Regions from separate parts of the Homo sapiens genome. Here all the other regions are linked to region 1. Evidence: promoter capture Hi-C in human tissues and cell types (Jung and others, 2019). All regions are on one chromosome and are shown on one strand. The core of a region is centred on a gene start or on the middle of the fragment in contact, and the rest is flanking DNA. Distances in the headings are between cores, read along the strand shown.

The links. The method cuts DNA at HindIII sites, captures the fragments that hold promoters and counts their contacts. A contact is called where the count stands out against the background at its distance.
Region 2: a fragment that was not itself captured here is called in contact with the fragment with the promoter of ADAMTS14 in region 1 in 8 of the 25 tissues and cell types used here (H1 embryonic stem cells, IMR-90 fibroblasts, heart left ventricle and 5 more).
Region 3: a contact is called between a fragment that was not itself captured here and the fragment with the promoter of ADAMTS14 in region 1, in 1 of the 25 tissues and cell types used here (spleen).
Region 4: a contact is called between a fragment that was not itself captured here and the fragment with the promoter of ADAMTS14 in region 1, in 1 of the 25 tissues and cell types used here (spleen).

What each region holds. Positions count from the first base shown.
Region 1 is chr10:70,670,641-70,674,134 of GRCh38, forward strand. ADAMTS14 (ADAM metallopeptidase with thrombospondin type 1 motif 14) reads left to right here and starts at 1,866. Exons shown (of 22, transcript NM_080722.4): 1 at 1,866-2,244. The coding sequence starts at 2,163. RefSeq lists a silencer at 453-747. The HindIII fragment of the contact is 21,684 bases long and covers 1-3,494 here.
Region 2 is chr10:70,619,085-70,622,578 of GRCh38, forward strand. No RefSeq gene overlaps it. Among named protein-coding and RNA genes, the nearest start is that of PRF1, 18 kb to the left of the region's middle. The HindIII fragment of the contact is 5,049 bases long and covers 1-3,494 here.
Region 3 is chr10:70,713,557-70,717,050 of GRCh38, forward strand. All of the region lies in intron 4 of ADAMTS14 (ADAM metallopeptidase with thrombospondin type 1 motif 14), which reads left to right. Among named protein-coding and RNA genes, the nearest start is that of ADAMTS14, 43 kb to the left of the region's middle. The HindIII fragment of the contact is 3,690 bases long and covers 1-3,494 here.
Region 4 is chr10:70,637,101-70,640,594 of GRCh38, forward strand. No RefSeq gene overlaps it. Among named protein-coding and RNA genes, the nearest start is that of ADAMTS14, 34 kb to the right of the region's middle. RefSeq lists a silencer at 1-158. The HindIII fragment of the contact is 7,837 bases long and covers 1-3,494 here.

The DNA.
Region 1 (3,494 bases), core at 616-3,115:
ACGGGGAGAGGTTTTGCTCTCTGCTTGCCAAGGCTGGCTCCAGGGAAGGCCGCAGCCCACTCCAGCGAAGCAGGCTGCTGGGGCCCCAGCTGTGACCTGCTCCTCTTGACTTGCTTTCCTTGAGGCAGGAACAAGGGGGTGGAATGGAGCTGGGGCCCCTGAGTTTTCTAGGGGAGTCTTTCTGAGATGGCCCCACAGCAGAAAAGGGGCAATCCTTACGCCATGACTTTTTCCTTCTGTCCCGCAGGGTTCCCACTCTGCAGCTTGGAAAACTGAGACCCTGAGAAGGGAAGCCATTTTATCCAGAGATCATTTGGTGGGCTTGGGTTTGCAGAGGGCCAGAGCTGTGAAGCTCCAGCCTGGTCATCTCCCAGCCTTCTCTCTCTCTCTCTCTTTCTCTCTCTCTCTCTTTCTCTCTCTCTCTTTCCTATCTCTCTCTCTCTTTCCTCTCTCTCTCTCTCTCTCTCTCACACACACACACACACACACACACACACACACACACACCCTCTAACTTTCTTGCTCTGTCATCCCTCACACACAGAATCCTGTCTGGACCTTGACTTTGCACATCATTTTTTTTTTTTTTTGAGACAGGGTATTGCTCTGTCACCCAGGCTGGGTACAGTGGTGTGAGCTGAAGCTCAGCTCACTGCAGCTTCAGCCTCTCAGGCTAAAGCAACCCTTCCGCCTCAGCCTCCCAAAGTGTTGGGACTATAGGCGTGAGCCACTGCACGCAGCCAACACACATCTTAAAAGACCAGAAAGAGGAGAAAGAGGAACTCTATTCTTCCTGAATTTAATATAGATCAATTTGGTTGTGGCATTTCCAAATAACTGGATGCTCTGATGTAGCTTGGAATGCTTGGAATATAATATACTTTAGCTTTCTGAACCTGCTTCTTAAATGCACTGGTCCTCCAAAACCTTGGCATCATTTCCAAGATTCTTTATTCCATGGTTATTACAAAAAAATCTCCTTTCCACAACTCCCACCCCTGGATTGCTTGAAATATAGTTTATTTGCAAGTTATTAGTTACATATTTACAGAGTAAAGCAAGAGCATGGATCTTCTGTTGGGTTGTTTGTACTGACTCCTGACCTGGTCTCAACACCATTGCAAGACTAGCATCAAGTGCTCATCTCTCAGACTCTTGGTTCTTTCCACCTTGGGATGCCACAGTTGCTACTGGTGTCAGGGATGGAAGTGGAGGGCAGTTATCACTTATTGAGCATCTATTATGTGCTGTAGTTAACACCCATTTCACAGATAAGACAACTGAGGCTCAGAGCTAGGATTTCAATCAGGGCTGTCTGACTCTGAAGCCAGGGCTCTCTCCTCACCGGCTCAGCCCTGCTCTTGGCTAGGACACAGGTCAGTCGTGCACCCTGGGCTGGAGTCTGGAAAATGGGTAGATCCAAGGGGTCGATGGTTAGTGAGGGCATCAAGACCATAGTGAAAGAAAGAGGGAGTCTCCCTCTACCGGGAGGTTCACTGTCCACCACACTCCCAAATGCAGCCGGACACCCCTTGGGCTCCTGGCTCTGGAACAGAAACAGAGAGCAGGCCCTGCGGCCAAGAAAGGGGGCGGAGCAGCCATAGAAAGCGGCTTTGGGCCACCACTCCGGGGATCCCAGGCGTCTGAGGGGACAATCGGTCCGTGCGCCAGGAACCCCTGCTCTGTCTCCGCGTGGCACTTCCGATCCCCGGCCGCAGGCAGCTGCACTCCCCAGCCGCGCGCCCCGCCCCCGGGCGCCCGGCGCCCCAGCTCCGACCCGCGCCCGGCCCCGCCCCGCCCAGTGTGCCCACCCCCGGCCCGTCCCGCCGCCCCGTCGCCCGGCTCCCGCGGAGTCCCGGAGCGTCACTGCGCGGGCGGGCTGACCGACCAGCCGGCAGTTGGCACCGGGTGCGCTGGCGCGTCAGTGGCCCCGCTCTCCAGCCGGCAGCCTCGCGCGCCCGGAGCCAGCGGTCCAGGCGGCGGCGCCGCGCAGGGGACCCGGAGCAGGCGGGAGGGAAGCAGCTAGGCGGGGAGGCGGCTGAGGCGGCAGCGGCGGCAGCCAGCCGGTGCTCCGACAGCCCGGGGCGCACCCTAGCCTCGCCGCCCTCAGCCTGGGACTTGGGGATCGGGCGCTTGCCCAGCCCGCGTCCCAGCGCGGCCACATGGCTCCACTCCGCGCGCTGCTGTCCTACCTGCTGCCTTTGCACTGTGCGCTCTGCGCCGCCGCGGGCAGCCGGACCCCAGGTGCGTGCGGGTTGGGCGCGCGGGGGCCCGTGGGGTCCGGGGTGCACGCGGTCAGGGTGGCCCAAGGTTGCCCCAGCCACCCGGGCAGGGTTCCCGCGGGTGGGAGGCAGTATGCACACTCTGGGCTGATTTGCTGTCTTTTCTTCCACTGTGCCACGGCACTGTCCCGTGATTTCTCTCCCTTTCTGGTACTAGAAGTAGACAGAGACCCCAGGAGAGAATTTGGGAGCATCGAGTCTCTTCTCGGGAGCAGCGCATCTGTCTCTTTGTCTCTCTGTGTTTCTTCTTTCCCCTCTTCCCCAATCTGTTTCTCTGTCCTGTGTGTCTTTCTCTTTCAATGTCTTTTCTGTCTCCAACTTGTGTGAGCATGGGTGCAAGGGGTGTGTGTGTGTGTGTGTCTGTGTGTGGCTGTTACATACCCAGCATAAGGCTAACAGGTGATTGCCTCCTACAGCAGAGCATGCGGGGCACTCACGCTCCTGCACAGAAACACACATCCTTCCACTGCCCCCAACGTAGCACTGTCAAACGCTGTGGACACAGGTCTCTTGCATACAGACCAGATACACTCCACTCCCGCCCTGCAGCATGGGGTACCCTCCTGGTGGCTCTGAACATGGGGAGGAGTCACCGGTCATTTCCAGGCAGGGTCCCTCCTTGTTTGTGAGCCTTGTTCATGTGCCAGAGTGGGTCCCCTCTTGCAGCAGTCTTAGGGGTCCTCTGCTATAATGGGGATGAAACTAGAGCTGTGGGCATGGGGGATTTTCAGGAAACACCACTTTCTATGTTTCATCAGTGACGTGAACTGGGGAGACGAGAGGTAGAGCTGTGTGGAAATGAAAATTCCTCCCAAACTCGCATTCATGAATCACCAGGCCTGGAAGCCAGGGAGCTGTCATTCCTGCCCAGCCTGGCTGGGCTCAAGGAGAGCTGCGTGAGGATGGGCCTGCTGGCATGTGGCCTGGAGCATGGGGCCATGACCTCACAGTTAATTCAGCCCAAGTGGGCAGGTCACCCCCTGTATATCCTTTTATTTTTGAAGATCTATATTTATCCAGCTTGGGGCTCGGCCATACAGAGATCTCAGCGGCCACTGTCCTCCTGTAAAAAGTTTTCTTTCTAACCTTGGAAAAATAGAGAACCGCTCCCCTCTGCAGCCCCACCTTCTCCTTGACACGTGCCCATGGTCCCCTGGGTTTCTAGGTGTGTTTGTTTTGCCAGCTGCGTTCTTGGAAGTTTGGGGAGGAGGG
Region 2 (3,494 bases), core at 563-3,062, 52 kb before region 1:
AAGAGCGACTCACATGAAGGAAACAGCATGTGTTTCTGGGTTGGACTAGGATGTAGGGATAAATGAGTGGGTATTAATCATTATAACTGTAAGCATCCCATGTTTAACATGCACTCTCTGCCAGACACCTTGTGAATTTATAATTATCATGTAAATTAATCCTCCCAACAACCCATGAAATCGCCTCATAAAATCTTGAAACTTGCCAGCTAAATATCCTTCTAGGACAAAGTCTCACACAGAGGCAAAATGGCTGGGACTAGACTCTAAACTGAGCAAGACAGGGAGCCATGTACAGATAAGGTCCAGACAAAACTGGAGGAAGGCGACAGAGGAAGTCATTCCCAGAATCTTCAACCCATTTTAAAGACATTTTTCAGTACAACAGAAGAGGGAGCCCTAGAGTCACGAATCTAGGCCAAGAAATCTTTTCCCATTCTCCCCATTGAGGACTGCCCGAAAAACTATCTCACTTAAACATACGTAATGCAAAAGGATTGCAGAGGAGAAATCCAGTCCCATTCAGTTTTTGTTTTGTTTTGTTTTGTTTTGTTTTTAAAGAAAAAAGTTGATTAGCATAGTAACAGATCATCAGGCAATGATCTCTGGAAAGACATGCCCTACAAAATACATAAAATTTTTCATTTGATATTTTTAAATGAAGTAGAAGAGTTTTTAAAATGACAGAATTTAGGAAACTAAAGCATAAGTCAGGATTATAAAAATTAAGAGATGAGATAATTGGATACAAGGAAAATTTGAAAAGAGCTCACACAGAATTTAGTTAGGAAAAAACCATTTTTCTTTTCTAAAAAAAACCTCTAACCATTTTAGAAATAAAAAGAAGCTAGAATGAATAAATAACATAAATAATGTCATAAGAGAAATAGAAGATGAAACAGAGGAAATTAAAAAAATCAAAAGTGGAGACTGGTTTAAAAAAAGATATAAAGGTGATAGATATGGAAGATAGAGAAGATCCAACCCATGTATAAAAGAGACCTTAAAGAAGAAAACTGAAGTAATGAAACAGAATAAATACATACTGTAGTGAAATATGTTAACATACCTCTCTTTTTAACTGATAAAACAGGTGGACAATAAAATCAGTAAAGATACAAAAAAATTGAACAATGCAATGATAAGCTTGACCCAACTGACATATATAGGACACTGTACCCATACACCAAAGTGTTGATGAAAAGGCTAAACTTTGTAAAATATTTAAAGAGGCTTATTCAGAGCCAATATGAGTGACCATGGCCCAGGATACGTTCTCAAGAGGTCCTAAGAAAGTGTGCCCAAGGTGGTTGGGCTACAGTTTGGTTTTATACATTTTAGGGAACAAGAGTTGCAAGGAAAGACATAAGTCAATACATGGAAGGTGTACATTGGTTCAGCCTAAAGAGGTGGGATGTCTTATGGGGAGGGGACTGCTTCCAGGTCATATAGGTAGATTCAAAGATTTTCTGATTGGCAATTGGTTGAAAGAGTTAAGCTTTGTCTAAAGGCTTAAGAAGTCAGTAGAAAGGAATCCTTGAGCTAAGACAAGGGGGTTGTGGAAGCCAAGGCCCTTGTTACGTAGATGAAGTCTCATAGGTGGCAGCCCGCAGACAGCATGTGATGCCATACCAGAGTTAGGTTGGAATTTTGTGTTTTATTACTACAAAGAGTCTGTTTTGTCGGTCTTATGATCTCTCTTTTAATATTAATGCTGGCCAGTTGTGCCTAAACTCCAAAAGGGAGGGGGCATAATGAGGCCTCTCCAACTTCCCTTCCCATCATGATTTGGAATTCATTTTTTCAGGTTTTCCTTGGCCCAGAGGGAGTCCATTCAATCAGTTGGGTAGCTTAGGATTTTGTTTTTGGTTTACAAAAGAAATATGTCTTTTTTTCAAGTGCGTACTGAACATTTACCTAAATTGGCAATTTACTGGGCCATAAAATATCTCAAAACATTTCAATGGATTAAAAATTTACAGAGAATGTTACTCAGTGGATTAAGCAAGAAATCAATAACAAGAACAAAAAAACAAACAAACAAAAAATCAAAATGTTTGAAAATATACAAGGGTTAAATTACATTTAGCCTAAAGCTGCCTCCTTACATAGTTCAAGTTTGGCCTAAAGGTTTCTCAGTAAGTAATGAACTGTAACCTAACTGGATGTGTAAACAGACTATAACCTACTCTTTTATTTTATTTTATTTTTTTGACAGAGAGTCTCACTGTGTCACCTAGGCTGGAGTGCAATGGCACAATCTTGGCTCACTGCAACCTCCACCTCCCAGGTTCAAGTGATTCTTGTGCCTCGGCCTCGCAAGTAGCTGGGATTAGGTGCGCACCACCATGCCCAGCTAATTTTTGTATTTTTAGTAGACATGGGGTTTCACCATGTTGTCCAGGCTGGTCTTGAACTCCTGACCTCAGGTGATCCACCCGCCTTGGCCTCCCAAAGTGCTAGGATTATAGGTGTGGGCGACCATGCCAGGCCTTGTAACCTACTCTTGTAACAAGTAGGTCTTAGCCAATCACAGCAGTCATATTTCAACCACTTACAGGCAGCCAATGGTTCAAACCATGCTCAGATAAGGCAAACGCTTAGTTGCCTTTTGGATTGGCTGCCAAGCAACTAATCTGGCTGTTCCTGCGTCTCACTTCTGTTTTCTGTATTTCACTTTCCCTTTTCTGTCCATAAATCCTTTCCAACCACCAGAGTCACTTTGAACCTCTTCTGGTTCTAGGGACTGCCCAATTTGTGAAATGTTCTTTGCTCAATTAAACTCTGTTAAATTTAATTTGTCTAAAACTTTTCTTCTAACACCAATATCCTTCAAAATAAGTTCCAAATCAAAGAATAAGTCAGAAAATACTTTTAACTGAATGATAAAAATATGATACACTAAAATACATGGGATGCAACTAATATTATGTTTAGAGGGAAGTTTATGGTCATAAATGCACATTTCAGAAAAGGAGAAAGATTTAATATTGTAAAAAAACAAAATATGTTACTCTAAAATATGGTTTTAGCAGATCAGAATATGCCACTCCAAAATATGCCTCTGGCATAAGAATGATTTTGAGCTGATTATTATTATTTATTTATTTTTGAGACAGAGTCTCACTCTGTTGCCCATGCTGGAGTGCAGTGGTGCGATCTCCGCTCACTGCAAGCTCCGCCTCCCAGGTTCACATCATTCTCCTGCCTCAGCCTCCTGAGTAGCTGGGACTACAGGCACCTGCCACCATGGCTGGCTAATTTTTTTTTTTTTTTTGTATTTTTAGTAGAGACGGGGTTTCACCATATTAGCCAGGATGGCCTCGATCTCCTGACCTCGTGATCTGCTTGTCTCAGCCTCCCAAAGTGCTGGGATTACAAATGTGAATCACTACGCCTGGCCGAGCTGAGTATTTTTGATGGCAGTGGCTGCTGCCATCATGCTGGCTGCAGCAGGGAGGCACGGCTTTGGCTGCACACTCCATAAAGCTGGT
Region 3 (3,494 bases), core at 511-3,010, 43 kb after region 1:
GGCTTTCTCCCATGATGGGAAACAGGAACAACCCAGGTCCTCACACTTAGGACCCAAATGCCAAAGGTCTCTTTCTTGCCCTCCTAGGGAAGACTGGCTAGGGTGGGACATGAGGCTATCCCTGTATTAATTGCTGTGACTAGAAGGTTGGTTTGGGTCTGCTGGGTCACAGCTTGCCGCTGTGTATGGGGGTGAGTTGGAGCAGGACCTGTGCCCAGAAGGCAAGCAGCAAAGCATGCGGACAGGAAGAATGGCTTCCACAGTGGGGGACACAAAAGGAAGAGAAAACACAGTCCCTGCCCTCTGAGCTTATACTGCTGTGTGTCTGCAGACCACTGCACAAGATATAATTGCAAGCTGGGTGCCGTGACTCACACCTATAATCCTAGCACTTTGGGAGTCCAAGACAGGAGGATTGCTTGAGGCCAGGAGTTCAAGACAAGCCTGGGCATAGCAAGTCCCCATTTCTACAAAAAAATTTAAAAAATTAGCCAAGCAAGGTGGTGCACACCTGTAGTCCCAGCTACTCAGGAGGTTGAGGTGGGAGGATCGCTGGAGCCCAGGAGTTCAAGGCTGCAGTGAGCTATGATTGTGCCGCTGCACTCCACCCTGGCCAACAGAATAAGACCCTGTCTCTAGAATTAAAAAAAAAGAATATCATTGTAGAAATTATTAGTATTGTTTTTGAGCAACCACTGGGAGCCAGACTCTTTGTAGACTCGACCTCATTTATTTAAGTCTCCCCATAACCCTGTGAGAGGTCTGAGTAGCCTCAATGTCCTTACATAGAAACTGGCGTGCAGAGACAGGCTGTAACTTGCTAGTCTGCCCTCTGGTAGGCCGTGGGGCTGGGATCTGAGCACCACTGTGTCCACTCCAGAGCTCACCCTCTTCCCCAGGCCTGGTGCCAGCTGGTGCTGTCCGTGGCTGGTGACCCAGCTGTTATGGTAGAAAAACTTTTCTCCACCCTCTTATGTTCAGTACTGGAGGGCTTGTGAGTTAAACTGAAAGAGATGGACTGGCAGGAGAAAAGAGTTGATTTGCCAGTTCCTTGTATATAGGGGTGCTCCATGATGAGTACCTCAAAGGGGTGGTGAAAACTGGGGGTTTGGCCAGGTACAGTGGCTCACGCATGTAATCCAGTACTTTGGGAGGCTGAGGCAGGTGTATCACCTAAGGTCAGGAGTTTGAGACCAGCCTGACCAATATGGCGAAACCCCGTCTTTACTAAAAATACAAAAATTAGCTGGGTGTGGTGGTGCGCCTGTAGTTCCAGCTGCTCGGGAGGCTGAGGCAGGAGAATTGCTTGAACCTGGGAGGCGGAGGTTGCAGTGAGCCGAGATCGGGCCATTGCACTCCAGCCTGGGCCACAGAGGGAGACTGCAGTCTCAAAAAAAAAAAAAAAAAAAAAAAAAAGAAACAAAACCTGGGGGCTTATATTCTTAGCTTAATAGGGAGAGAAAGGGGAAGGGAGAAAGGTTTCTTTAGGAAAGACAAGTGGGTTTTTAGGAGAACTAACGGGAGATGAAGTTTGTGATAATGCTTACTTAAGCAGGGTCAAGTGGTATTTCTGTCTTTATGACCGTGAAATTCCCTTAAGGGGATTTCTGACAACCTCTTTTCCCAGATGCTGCTGCTTTTAAGGAAAGCTGAGAAGGCTTCTTTCTGCATCTGTTGGCTTTCAGATGTCTTCAGCTTACACTGATCTGTATCCTAATGCTGGGGTTCCAAATGGGCCCTCACACAGGCTGGGAACAGGACCCCAGGAGAGGGAGTGCTTGTATGCATGTATGTCCTGGAGGGGCCATGACCTGTGCCAGCTCCTACAGTCTCTGCTTGGTGAGGGGCTCCACATGCATGGTTTCTGGGCACTGTGTGCCCTCAGCGAGGCCCCTTCCAGACCCACTGAGTGGCCTGGTCTGAGCCCCTGATAAGGGCTCTAAGAGGGTCAGCTCAAATGATGGGGGTGAGGGTGGAGGGGATACTCTTTGGGGCTATGGGAAAAACAATGAAACCCACTGCTGAGGTGGAGAGCTGAAGGCAGCGAAGTTTGGAAGGTAGTGGGGAGAGTAGATGGGAGCTTGTTCCCCAAGCAGAATTTGGGAGCTTCCCTTGGAAACCAGAAGAGGTCTTTTGATGGGCTATAAGTGAGATGTTTCTTTCTATTGGGCAAAGTGTACTTTTGAAACTTGGCATTCCAGGGCTGGCCTGGCCTGAAACGTGATGCATTCAGAAGGGGGTAGGAAGCCCTCCAATCTGGAGTTATAAGAGACCACGTGGATGGTGGCAGGAGTGGGTGGGAAGTTCTCTCTGAGCCCTTGATGTTCATGATGTGGAGGCCAGCTGCCCACTTATCCTTCTCTGGTGTTCCCCTGACGTCCCTAGGACTTTACTGTTGGAGGAAGGCAGGCTCAGTAACCCATTCTAACCTTCTTGGCCAAATTAACACATTCTGACTTTTGACCCTTGACCTCTGACTCATGCATGACTCAAAGCTGTGGCCGGGGAACATTGTCAGTTTCCACTGAAGACTGGGCCCCGAGGGCCTGCCTTGGTGACTGCTGTTTGGATAGTCTTGGTCCTACCTTCCTTCTCCCCACAATCTGCCAGAAAGTGGGTGAGGAGAGAGGAGAGTAATGATCTTCCCAGAGGTTCTGGAAGGCCGCTAGAGGCTAGGTCTTCTGCTCACTGCTGGGTTGCCCTGTGAATGTGGGAACAGAAAGGGCCTGCGATGGGTGAGGGGCACAGCTGAGGCAGAGCTTCCCCTGAGGGAAGCCCAGTTCCTCTTGGGGAGAGAGGCTCACAGCATTGAGATGGACTGCGGCTTAAAGGAGCCATGACCTTGCAGACCTGCTGCTGCCATCGCGGGTACATGGGCGGTGTGGGGTTCTGGCTTCCCCCGAACAGGTGCAGAGGACGGACAGTCAAACTTCCCAGCAAGGGAAGGAGAGCAGATGGGGACCGACAGTCTGCCTCCCTGGGGACCAGCAGCTCATCCTGTCCATTGTGTGGAAGCTTTTATTTGGCTGGGATGCTTGACGCTCGAATTGCCTTAGGGGATTTCCATGGGGCCAGTAATAACAGCTTGCCTTTGCATTCCCCTTGGAACACCTGTCTGCTGTGACCATTTCTGATCCTGATTTCCGGGGCCAGGTCTGGGCTGGCGGGACCAGAGGGAGGAGATCTGGTTCCTGGGATGGATGGTCCCATTGTGCTCTCAACCCAGGGAGGAGGGGGCAGAAGCCATTAGTGAAGCACCCAAAGTTATCTGACAAGGCCCTGGGCACTGCTGTCAGGGGCAGCTGGAGGGACAGTCTGGGTGGCCCTGCCTCCTATATGTCTTTTGCATTGACCTGGGGAGGTGCTATGGATATTCCTGCAGCTTCAGATGATGCGACCGGGCTCCCCGCTCAGCCTTGTCGCACACGCTGCTGGGCGCTGTCTTTTTCTGTGCCTGTTTGCACATCTATACTGGGTCATCTTCCTTAAGACTT
Region 4 (3,494 bases), core at 524-3,023, 34 kb before region 1:
GCGGCCGGGCGTGGCAGCTCACGCCTGTAATCCCAGCATTTTGGGAGGCAGAGGCGGGTGGATCACTTGAGCCCAGGAGCTCAAGACCAGCCTAGGCAACATAGGGAGTCCTATCTCTACAAAAAACACAAAAATTAGCCAGGCGTGGTGGCGCATGCCTGTAGTCCCAGCTACTAGCGAGGCTGAGGTAGGAGAATCACCTGAGCCCTAGGAGGTTGAGGGTGCAGTGAGTTGTGGTCACACCACTGCACTCCAGTCTGGGCGACAGAGTGAGACCCTATCTAAAAACAAACAAACAAACAAATCAAACAAACAGAAAAAGAAAAAGGAGGCAAAAAACATCAAACTGTTTAAATAACTATTTAGTAATTTTTTAAAAGGTAAACATACATACACCTAAGAGCAAGCAGTCCCACTCCTGCCCCCATAGAAATAATTGCTTATGTCCAACAAAGGATATGTACAAGACTGGTCATGGCAGTGCTGTGCATAAATAGCCCAAATGGAAACAACCCAAATGCCCATAAACAATAGGATGGGTGAATAAATGATAGAATATTCATGCAATGGAATTTTATACAGCAGCAAAAAAATGATGAATGACTGATACAAGAGACAAGTATGGATGAATCTCACATAAAAATGTTGAATTTGAGACCAGCCTGGCCAACATAGTGAAACCCTGTCTCTACCAAAAATACAAAAAATTAGCTGGGTGCAGTGGCGGGCTCCTGTAATCCCAGCTACTTGGGAGGCTGAGGCAGGAGAATGGCTTGAACCCAGGAGGTGGAGGTTGCAGTGAGTCGAGATCACACCATTGCACTCCAGACCGGGCGACAGTGTGAGACTCCGTCTAAAAAAAAAAAAAAAAAAGTTGAGTGAACAAAACCAGACACAATAGAATACAAACTGTATGATTCCATGTAAATGAAATTTAAAATGGGGAAAATGAATCTGTGGCGACAGAAGTCAGAAGACTGGTCATTTTGTCAAGCAGTGTTAGGGATGGAGAGGGTAGTACATGGAGGGGCTTTCTGGACAGCTTATGATCCTTCCTTCCTTCCTTCCTTCCTTTCCTTTTTTTTTTTTTTTTTTTTTTTAAGACAGAGTCTCGCTCTTGTAGCCCAGGCTGGAGTGCAATGTGGCACGATCTCGGCTCACTGCAACCTCTGCCTCCTGGGTTCAAGCGATTCTCCTGCCTCAGCCTCCCGAGTAGCTGGGATTACAGGAAAGTACCACCATGCCTAGCTAATTTTTGTATTTTCAGTAGAGACAGAGTTTCGCCACGTTGGTCAGGCTGGCCTCGAACCCCTCAGGTGATCCTCTGCCTCAGCCTCCCAAAGTGCTGGGATTACAGGCGTGAGCCACCGCTCCTGGCCTATTATCTTGTTTTTCATGCCACATATATAAAGGAAATTTGTCAGTTGCATCATTCTTGCCATGAACTCTCATTATACCTTTACATTTAAAAGTTATCAGGCACAAATTAACCACAACCTTTTTTTCTGAGATGGAGTTTCGCTCTTGTTGCCCAGGCTGGAGTGCAATGGCGCGATCTCGGCTCACAGCAACCTCCGCCTCCCGGGTTCAAGCTATTCTCCTGCCTCAGCCTCCCGAGTAGCTGGGATTACAGGCATGCACCACCACCATGACTAATTTTGTATTTTTAGTAGAGATGGGGTTTCTCCATGTTGGTCAGGCTGGTCTTGAACTCCCGACCTCAGGTGATCTGCCCGCCTTGGCCTCCCAAAGTGCTGGGATTACAGGCATGAGCTGCCGCTCCCGGCAACCATTTTTTTTTTTTTTAAATAGGCTGGGCATGGTGGCTCATGCCTCTAATCCCAGCACTTTGGGAGGCCGAGGCGGGTGGACCACTTGAGGTCAGGAGTTTGAGACCAACCTGGCCAACATGATGAAACCTTGTCTCTACCAAAAAAAAAAAAAAAAAAAAAAAAAAAAATACAAAAATTAGCTGGGCATGGTGGCGTGCTCCTGTAGTCCCAGCTAGTCAGGAGGCTGAGGTGGGAGGATTGCCTCTACCTGAGAGGTGGAGATCACACCACTGCACTCCAGCCTGGGCGACAAAGACCCTGTCTTAAAAAAAAAAAAAAGAAAAAAGGAAAAAGTGAAAATAATTGTCCCATTATAAAATAAGTACCCTTGGGAGGTAGTGAGCTTCCCATCACTGGGGAGATGCAGACAGCTGCTGGTGCCTGAGCACTGGGTAGAGGAGTCGGCAGGGGCGGAGTATGTGCACTGGGGGAGAAGTGGGGCAGATCAGACCAGTGCATGCTGAGATTCTACTTTTTGGAGACTCTGCTTCTCACTATAAAGTGGCGTTCTGATATTTTAGACGCTTTTAAGTTTTTTTTTTAAATTATTATTTCTTTTTTATTATACTTTAAGTTCTAGGGTACATGTGCACAACGTGCAGTTTTGTTACATAGGTATACATGTGCCACGTTGGTTTGCTGCACCCATCAACTTGTCATTTACATTAAGTATTTCTCCTAATGCTATCCCTCCCCCAGCCCCTCACCCCCTGGCAGGCCCCGGTATGTGATGTTCCCGCCCTGTGTCCATGTGTTCTCATTGTTCAACTCCCACCTATGAGTGAGAACATGCAGTGTTTGGTTTTCTGTCCTTGTGATAGTTTGCTTAGAATGATGGTTTCTAGCTTCATCCATGTCCCTGCGAAGGACATGAATTCATCCTTTTTTATGGTTGCATAGTATTCCATGGTGTATATGTGCCACCTTCTCTTAATCCAGTCTATCGTTGATGGACATTTGGGTTGGTTCCAAGTCTTTGCTATTGTGAATAGTGCCACAATAAACATACGTGTGTGTGTATCATTATTGTAGAATGATTTATAATCCTTTGGGTATATGCCCAGTAATGGGATTGCTGGGTCAAATGGTATTTCTAGTTCTAGATCCTTGAGGAATCACCACACTGTCTTCCACAATGGTTGAACTAATTTACACTCCCACCAACTGTGTAAAAGCGTTCCTATTTCTCCACATCCTCTCCAGCATCTACTATTTCCTGACTTTTTAATGATTGCCTTTCTAACTGGCGTGAGATGGTATCTCATTGTGGTTTTGATTTGCATTTTTCTGATGACCAGTGATGATGAGCATTTTTACATGTCTGTTGGCTGCATAAATGTCTTATTTTGAGAAGTGTCTGTTCATATCCTTTTCCCACTTTTTGATGGGTTTTTTTTTTTCTTGTAAATTTGTTTAAGTTCTTTGTAGATTCTGGGTATTAGCCCTTTGTCAGATGGGTAGACTGTAAAAATTTTCTCCCATTCTGTAGGTTGCCTGTTCACTCTAATGATAGTTTATTTTGCTGTGGAGAAGCTCTTTAGTGTAATTAGATCCCATTTGTCTATTTTGGCTTTTGTTGCCATTGTTTTTGGTGTTTTAGTCATGAAGTCCTTGCCCATGCCTATGTCCTGAATGGTATTGCCTAGGTTTTCTTCTAGGGTT